Linked DNA regions of Homo sapiens: region 1 is linked to region 2. The links are contacts of gene promoters, found by promoter capture Hi-C in blood cells and fetal thymus (Javierre and others, 2016). All regions are on one chromosome and are shown on one strand. Each heading gives the region's core, a stretch centred on a gene start or on the middle of the fragment in contact. The rest is flanking DNA. Distances are from core to core; before and after follow the strand shown. Region 1 has its middle 53 kb from the start of EEIG2. Region 2 holds the start of EEIG2 (EEIG family member 2).

Region 1 (4,085 bases), core at 1,451-3,950, 53 kb after region 2:
AGGAGATACTCTTCCCTCAAGATACAATTCCAATTGTTATTTTTGATAACAGTTCAAAAAAACAGAAACACATGCTTCCAATGCACCATGCATTCAGGTATTCTGGGTCTAGTTCAGCTGGTGGTTGAGCTGATTGCTGCATTCACTCTGACAGCCAGGCGAGCCCATCTCATGGAAGAACCTCACTCTATTCTTGATAGCGTGATGGGCCACCAAGAGCTGGAAAGGGTGCAGGAACCATGAGATCTGGAAATACTTCCTTGGGAAGGCAACATCATGAATGAGGTCTTCTAAGCAAATGACAGCAAACTTCCTCAGGTGCTCCTCACTGTGTTGTCTGTTGGAGAGATGGTCTTATTCTTGACCTTGGCTTGTCCGTGTTTCAAGATGAGTTCCCAGATGGGCTTCAGATTTAGAAATCCCCAGGTCATATAAGATTCCAATATGTACAGCAGTTTTAGGCTCTGGGGGTGGCTTTTACAAAGACACTACTAAAAATTTTCTTTAGGTGAACCATTTTCTTCTTGCAGTGGTTCTCTGCACCAGTAAACTCATGCTATTAATTTTTAGGATGTGTACAACAAAGGCCAAGGAATGTTTATCTGGCAATTCCAAGGCATGAGATTTCACTTCTAGTCATCTGAGAGGCACCTTGTTGTGTTTCTGCCACCGGAAATCATGTAGGAACGATTCCAGTTGCTTACACCTGAGGCCATTTCTCCCTTTTCTTTTTTTTTTTTTTTTTGCTAAAAGTGCATTCTTTGCCTGAGTGGCTCTGAGGACAATAATGCACTAAATAATATTTGCTTGTGTATCTTTTCAAACTTTCCAGTTGATCCTTATTTTCTTTATTCCTTTAAAGGAGTGATGGATACTTCAGAAATTTATCGATGCTCTCAAGTTAACAGGTATAAATATTCCTAAAAAAGAGGCAGAGAAGATTCTTGAAAGGTCAGCTCTCATATATGTATGTATATATTAAACTTAATTTTTATTATTATTAATTTTATTAGCTCTAAACCCTTTTTAATGATAAAAGTGATAACTATGGAAATGTTAGAAAAATATGAATAATGGCTTTTCATTATTGAACATCTGTCTGCTAGCACTCTTCTAAGAACATTACATACATTATCTCATTTAATCCTCACAAGACTTTAGAGACCAAGTCTATTATTTTTCACAGAAGAGGAAATTGTTGAGAAGTGAGGTTAAGTAACTTCCCCAATGTCACCATAATCCAATCACCCAAATGTTAACCTGGTATCATTTTAGTGTATAGATTTATTGCTTTTTATAAGATTATGTCATTTTATATTTATCAAGTTTGATCCTTTTTGCTGGGCATGTACTAGCTAACGAGGATGCAGTGGTAGCCTGGCCCTTGTGCCTGTCCTTACAGAGCTGACAGTCCACTGTGTGTGTGTGTGTGTGTGTGTGTGTGTGTACACGCACATGTGCTAACAGTGAACAGACAGTTGCAATGTGGCAAGGATTATGACAGGAACATATAGAAGAACAACAAAGAAAAGTATCTTATCAGGAGAGTGCTGAATTTTATTAAACTGTATAATGTGTCATTTGACCTATTTATATAATGAATTATAGTAATAGATTTTGTCATGTTAAACATTCCTGAAATAAGGCTAACTTATTATGAACTATTTTATACAGAACAATAAAGAGAATAATATAACCAAAAACCATACCTACCACTGTGTTTGTCATATTTAACATTTTACATATTTGATTCAGATTTTTAAAAACAAAATTACAGGCAGCAAACATTTTCAATGTATTATTCTCTAAACCCATTTCCTCCATTCCTGCCAGAAGTAACTACTATTCTGAACTTATTATTCTCATATAGACTTTTATATTTGCATACATTTTACTATACATATACTGTTAAAATATAGGATATTGTTTCTTATGTCTTAAGCCTTTAAATGGTGACATACAGGATTTTTTTATGACTATTTTCTAATCCTTCAATTTTTGGAGATTTATTTATGTCAATGCATATAGCTCTAGTTCAATTATTTTAACCACTGTATGGTTCCATTTAATAAATATAACTCAGTTTACTTATGAATTCTGATGGTGGTTATTTAGGTTAAAAATTTCTTTTGTTGCTAATATAATATAAAGCTGCAATGGATATTCTTGTGTGCATCTCCTTGTGTATTACTTGCGGTGGAATTGTTTGGTCATAGGCTTTACAGATATTTAACTTTAATTAAATATTCCAAATTGCTCTCCAAAGTAGTTGTACCACCTTAGATTCCTACCAGAAATGTATTTCCATTCCAACACTTGATACCGTAGTATTCTAATATTTTAATATTTTCCAAACCTATGGGTCAGAAATATTATCTCATTATTTTTAATGTAACTAAATGTAATTAATTATATTCCTTATTACTAGTAAAACTATCTCTTCATATATTTGCTGGTCATTTGGATTTTTTTTGTGAATTACCTGTTTATTCCTTTTGTCAATTTTTCAGCGAGATTGGTTGTCTTTTTCTTAATGGCTTGTAGGTGTTCTTTCTAAATTCTGGATATTAATCCTATGTTGGCATTATGCAATATGAATATCTTTTCCCAGCTTGTTGCTTATTTAAAACAAATTTTTGGTGTTTTTTTGTTGTGCAGACATTTTAAATTTTAATGCAGTTATATTTGTCTCTTTTTCTTTTATGGTTGTGCTTTTGACATATTGAGAAATTCTTCCTTACCCTGGGGCATGAAGATATTCATCAATATCTTATTTAAATATTTAGATATTTCATATTTAGTTCTTTAATTCACCTGTAATTGATGTTTGTGTATGGTGTGAAATAGGGATTCAATTTCTTTTTTTTTCTGTATAGTCAATTGTCCTATCACCATTTATTGGTTAGTCCCATCCTTTTCCTACAGATTTGAAATGCTTACCTCTAGTCATATATTAAATTTCCATCTGTGTATGGGTGTGTTTCTGGTTTCCTTTTCCTGTTATATTAGTTGTTGTCTACTGTGTATCAATACCGCATGTCTTAATTACTATCACTGTATAATACATCTCGACATCTGGACTTACATTCATCTCCAATAGTGTCAATGCTATTTTTGACCCTTTCCTCTTCTATATGAATTTTAGAATCAGATTGTTTTGTTATATACATGTGCATACACATGCACATATATATATATATCATTTTTGGAATTTTGATTGCAATTTATTGAATTAATAGCTTAATATTGGGGAGAATTGATGTATTTATGATGTTTCATCCTCTATTTCTTGAACATTTTATGTGTCTTCATTTTTTAGATCCTTCCTTTTTTCAGCAGAAAAGAGCAGCAATAACATTATTGAAAAATATCCATTGGATCTGGCGTTTGGGAGATTTCCGGGGATGTCAGTGAAAGGAGTTTGAGTAGTGTGGTAAAGGGTTAAGTCAGGTTGCATAAGGCTGTTGAGTGGGTGAGGGTGAGGATGTGGGGACTGTGGTTTAAGAGAAATGGTTAATGTGGGGATGTGGTTTAAGAGAAATTTAAATGAGAAGGAGAGGACAAGTCTTTTTAAATTTTATTTTTATTATCTTTTGGTGGATAGGAGAGATCTGAGAAGTAGTCACCAGAGAAGGACATGTTGGATCTGTTATAGAGACAGGAGATGACTGATTGGGAGAAAAGGGTTCCAACAACTCAAGACAGGGAGTCCTTGAATAAGACTCAATATTTCAACCTCTGAGTGTAGAGCACAAGAGGTGGTGATGAAAAGTGGATTTATTTATTTACTAACAAATATTTATTGAGTGTCTGTGATATGCCTGTCATTCATCTAGGTGCTAAGGATGCAGTAGTGAAGGAAATAGGCCAAAATCCTTGCTCTCATAGAGCTCACCATAAACAAGAGGAGAAAAACAATAAACTAGATAAATAATTAAGCTATGTTAGATAATGAAAAGTGCTAAGGGGAAATGAAGCAGAGGAGGGAGACTCGTGTGTGTGTGTGTGTGTGTGTGTGTGTGTGTGTGTGTGTGTTGGGGAAATGCAATTTAACTGTGGTGAGTAGGGAATTCTTGAAAGTGACA
Region 2 (4,082 bases), core at 847-3,346:
TGGCATCGCACTTACCAGCTGAGGGGACCTTAGGAAAGTTAGTTATGCTTTCTGAGCCTCAGTTTATTTATCTACGAAATGGAACCCCTACCTTATAGACTTGCTATGAGAATTAAATAAGATAATATATTTAGAAGCCAACACATATTTGCTGAATAAATGACTGCCTACAACGAAAGAATAAGTGACTTGTGGGAAGTAAGCCAAATAAACATAACTGAGGTAGGAAGGAAGCCCCGTAGACAAGTGCCCTGACCACCAGGTGTCACCACTGGCCCAGGAGCGCCAGTCTAACTGCCTGGCGTCGGGGGTGGCACCCTGCAGCAAAACAGTCTAGGCCTCAGGGCAAGACTGTCACCTGCACCAACAGGACCTTCACGAATCGGCTTAGGCTTTTCAACAAGTAAGAGATGGTCCAATATTTTTTTTGCACCAAAATAGGTTACATTCTTCTCTTACAGGTGTTTAAAATACTTAGCTGAATATCCACTGATGTGTCACCACAGTTTAATTTTAAAAACTGTCTTCGGCAAACTATTAATTTCATATATCCTTTGGTTTAGCCAACTAGACATTTTCTGGCTTCCATAGGCTTCAATATTGCCCCAAAGACAAGTTTCTAGCCCCAATTCCACAATCCAGTGACATTATTTCCTTTATACTATAAATGGGATGACGGAATTTTTTTTAAGTAGAATATTTTTAGGGCAGAAATAAAGCCTAAGACCAGTATATATGGGCAAAATAACATTAACTTTTAACCCTTCTTGATCTCAGGAACTCAAAAGTTCATTTAAAAAATTGTTTTCTCTCTCTATGTATATATTTTAAAGAAAGCACCTTAGGGTACATCTGTCAACCTGTGAGTAGCTCTGAAATTACTCAAGAAACACTGCCACACCTATTATTAATGCCACACCTATTATTTAATAGCTTCATTCTGTAACCTGCTAATGCCTCTCTCTGGGAGTGCCCAGGGGCTCATTTTAAAATGAGGGCAGGGCCTGGGCTCCCCATCTGGCTCTAAGCCCTCCCACAAGGAGACCTACTAGTGGCCACTTCAAGACTAATTCATCCAGCATTAGCGCCTAACTGGAGACGCCGCTCTCTGATGAGGCACAGACCGTTGTCTCGTCTGCCAGGAGCACTTGACTCAAGTCAAGCCTGGCCAGGCCTACCCCAGCCTCAGAGTGGGTGGCCAAGTCCCCTTGTAATCTACAAGGGAGAAGGAATTGTGCTAAGCACAGGTTTCTGTTCAGAGCTGGGCTCTTGGAACTCCTGCAGTTTGGGTTATTTTAGTTTTTAACAGCTCAAGTTCTACTTTGCATTTCACAAATATGGAAATGTCTTAAGAGAAAACAGAAGCATCCTCCCTCTCTGGCCATTGCTCCCATTCCTAGAGGATTTGGGAGGGAAGAGCAGATACCAGGCACCATCTGGAGTCAGGAGCGCAGGAACCAAGGCCAGCTGAGAAGAACCCATTTGCAAAGCACTTTGCAGATCAATAAATTCGACTGATTTTAGAGCGGTCCCTAGGGAAAGGCGAGCAAATGGGCCAAGGAGAGATGCTGCCCATCCAACAAGCCCTGGCCAAGCAGAAAGGGGCGAGGCGGCGCGGGAGGCGAGTTACCTGGAGGACTCGGCGGTGAAGCTGCCGCCGTCCAGCAGCCGCATCTTGCAGAAGAGGACCCCATTGACGAAGGGCACTGAGGAGAGCTCCTCGAGCTCGAAGTCCACCTTAAACTTAAACTTCTTCTTCTTCATCATCGTGAGAGCCAGGCGCCTGCAAGCTGGGCGCACGGCCGGGCGCCGCCGCCTCAGCTTGGCCGAGCCCCGGATCAGCCCAGCCCCATGGCCGGGGCCGCGAGCTGTGCGCGGGGGCGCGGCCGGGGGGCGCCGCAGGCCGGCCGCGGCCGGGGCCGCTGCCGCCGCCTCTCGCGGCAGCCTGGGCCGGAACGCGGCGGCAGCTGCGGCGCGGACCCCGACCGCCCGCGGGGAGCGGTCGTGCTGCAGCTCGCCCGGGGAGGTGAGCGCCCTTTTGGTGCTCAGCTCGCCGCCGCCGCCGCCGCCGCCTCCGCCGCCGCTGCCGCCCGTCTGGGAGTCGGGAGAGGCGAGGCTCGAGGAACCGCCGCCTCAGCGCCTCGGGGGTCGGGGGCGCCCCCAGCGGCCGCGGCCTGCAGCGCACGGCGGGGCGGAAGCCGGAGGGAGGGCGGGGACTTTGTGGGCGGGCGCGGGCTTGGCCGCGGACTCTAACCCGCGACGGCAGTTAGCACGTCACGCCTTTCTGGGGTTAAAAAAAGACAAACCCGACAGAGAAAGCTTCCTTCTACCGCTTCCTCTCCGCCTTTCTTTTCAGTTTTTGCACCGCCTCCTTTCTCCCCCACCCCCTCCAGTGGTTTCTTTCCTTTGGGTTTGAGAGCCATGGGTTAATAGAGGCAATTAAAATCTCAGCGTTGTTTTGGTCAAATTGAAATCCTAAAACTAAAATTTCCGTTAGGTACTCTAAATTCACGAGCCTTCAAATATAAAAGGAAGATAAGGTAGGAAAAAGGAAAATGATGTGCTGAGGGACTATCAAGGGCCCAGGCACCGTACTGCTGCAGGCGCTTTCTCTGGGGTATAGCTTATCTAGTTCCTGTCACCCAGGACAAAAGATAAAAGAGCAAAGAAGCAGTTAAAATAATACCCTCCCTTTAAAAATTTGTCTGTCTATACTGAGAACTGAAATGCTTAAAATCAAATTCTGCAGGCAGTCTGGCATGGCTACGCTGTAATCCCAGCTACTCGGGAGGCTGAGGAGGGAGGTTAGCCTGAGCCGGGGAAGCGGAGCTTGCAATGATCGGAGATCGCGCCACTGCACTCTAGCCTGGGCAACAGAACAAGCCCCTGTCTTAAAAACAAAACAAAATCTTCAGAGCAGGCTTAAAAAAAAATCTCCCTAGGGGAATAACAATTACCTGCCTTCTGTAATCATGCATGTATTGTTACAATGAATGTTACAAAGTTGGTTACGTGATGTTCATGTTTTTAAACTGAGTTATTGTCATTTTCACTCAGATTCTGCCACAGTAATTCTGAAAGGGTTTAATTGAAAATATTTTCTTTCTCAGTTTACTCGTTTACTCATTCATTCATATAAAAAAATTGCTTAAAATGTCAATCATCGGCTAGACCCCATAACCAAAAGCCAATAACTGCCCTCAAGAATTTTACAATCTAGTGAGGAAGACATGTTTAGACAGGTCATTAAAAAAACACAACCTAGCACCAAGCTATGTAGAACTCAGAGAAGCAATTAATTGAAGTTAATCAGTTTTCTGAATTTCAAAGGATGAAAATGATTTGGGACAAAGTGGGGTAAGTTGTTCTAGGAGAAATAAATTAAAAAAAAAAAAAGATTCAGAGGCAGGTTCGGGGGTGGGGATTTGGTAATGGATAAAGCTTCTTACCCTGCAGGACAGGGGGCAAAGACAGTGAGATGCATTTGGGGACTTTGAGATTTGTCATTTAGAGCACTGGATGAATGTTAATTTCATTGACTGAACATTGAAAGCAAGAGGAGGGCAGGTTGGGAATGGAAGAGATAATGAGTCTTTATGGGATCTGCTTGCAGTACATCTAGGGAGAGAGAGGCAGCCTTAGCTCATAAAAATGCATTGGCAATTGAAAATATACATTTGGGAATTGAGGTAATCGCTGATGGCTGAAGCCCAAAAGGTGGATAAGGATGAGTTACTCTGAAGAATATTTAAAGGGTAGGCAAAGAGGAGATCGTGAAGGTGCCTAAGAACAAGCAGTCAAGAGAAAAAGGAGATGAAGAAAGAGATGGCCTGGAAGCCCAGACGGTTTTAATCATGTAACATTCGTAGTTACAAAGTTCTATTGTGTGCCAGGCACTATGCTGGGTACTAGAGATGCAAATGAATAAGACATAGGGGCTTATAAAGGAATGGAGAAAAACAGAGATATGCAAACAGATCAACTAAAGTGTGTGTGTGTGGTATGTGAGTATGTGTGTGTGAGAGAGAGAAGAGAGAGAGAAAGAAAGAGAGAGAGCAATCTGTGATCCATGTAGGACAGAG

Evidence for each region. The method cuts DNA at HindIII sites, captures the fragments that hold promoters and counts their contacts. A CHiCAGO score of 5 or more calls a contact.
Region 1: a fragment that was not itself captured here is called in contact with the fragment with the promoter of EEIG2 in region 2 in 1 of 17 cell types (monocytes); the score reaches 6.1 in monocytes.

What each region holds. Positions count from the first base shown.
Region 1 is chr1:108,505,269-108,509,353 of GRCh38, reverse strand. It overlaps the pseudogene RPL7L1P21. Among named protein-coding and RNA genes, the nearest start is that of EEIG2, 53 kb to the left of the region's middle. The HindIII fragment of the contact is 8,656 bases long and covers 1-4,085 here.
Region 2 is chr1:108,558,114-108,562,195 of GRCh38, reverse strand. EEIG2 (EEIG family member 2) reads right to left here and starts at 2,096. Exons shown (of 11, transcript NM_001010883.3): 1 at 1,631-2,096. The coding sequence starts at 1,767. RefSeq lists enhancers at 893-942, 1,406-1,505 and a silencer at 1,896-2,435. The HindIII fragment of the contact is 6,399 bases long and covers 1-2,321 here.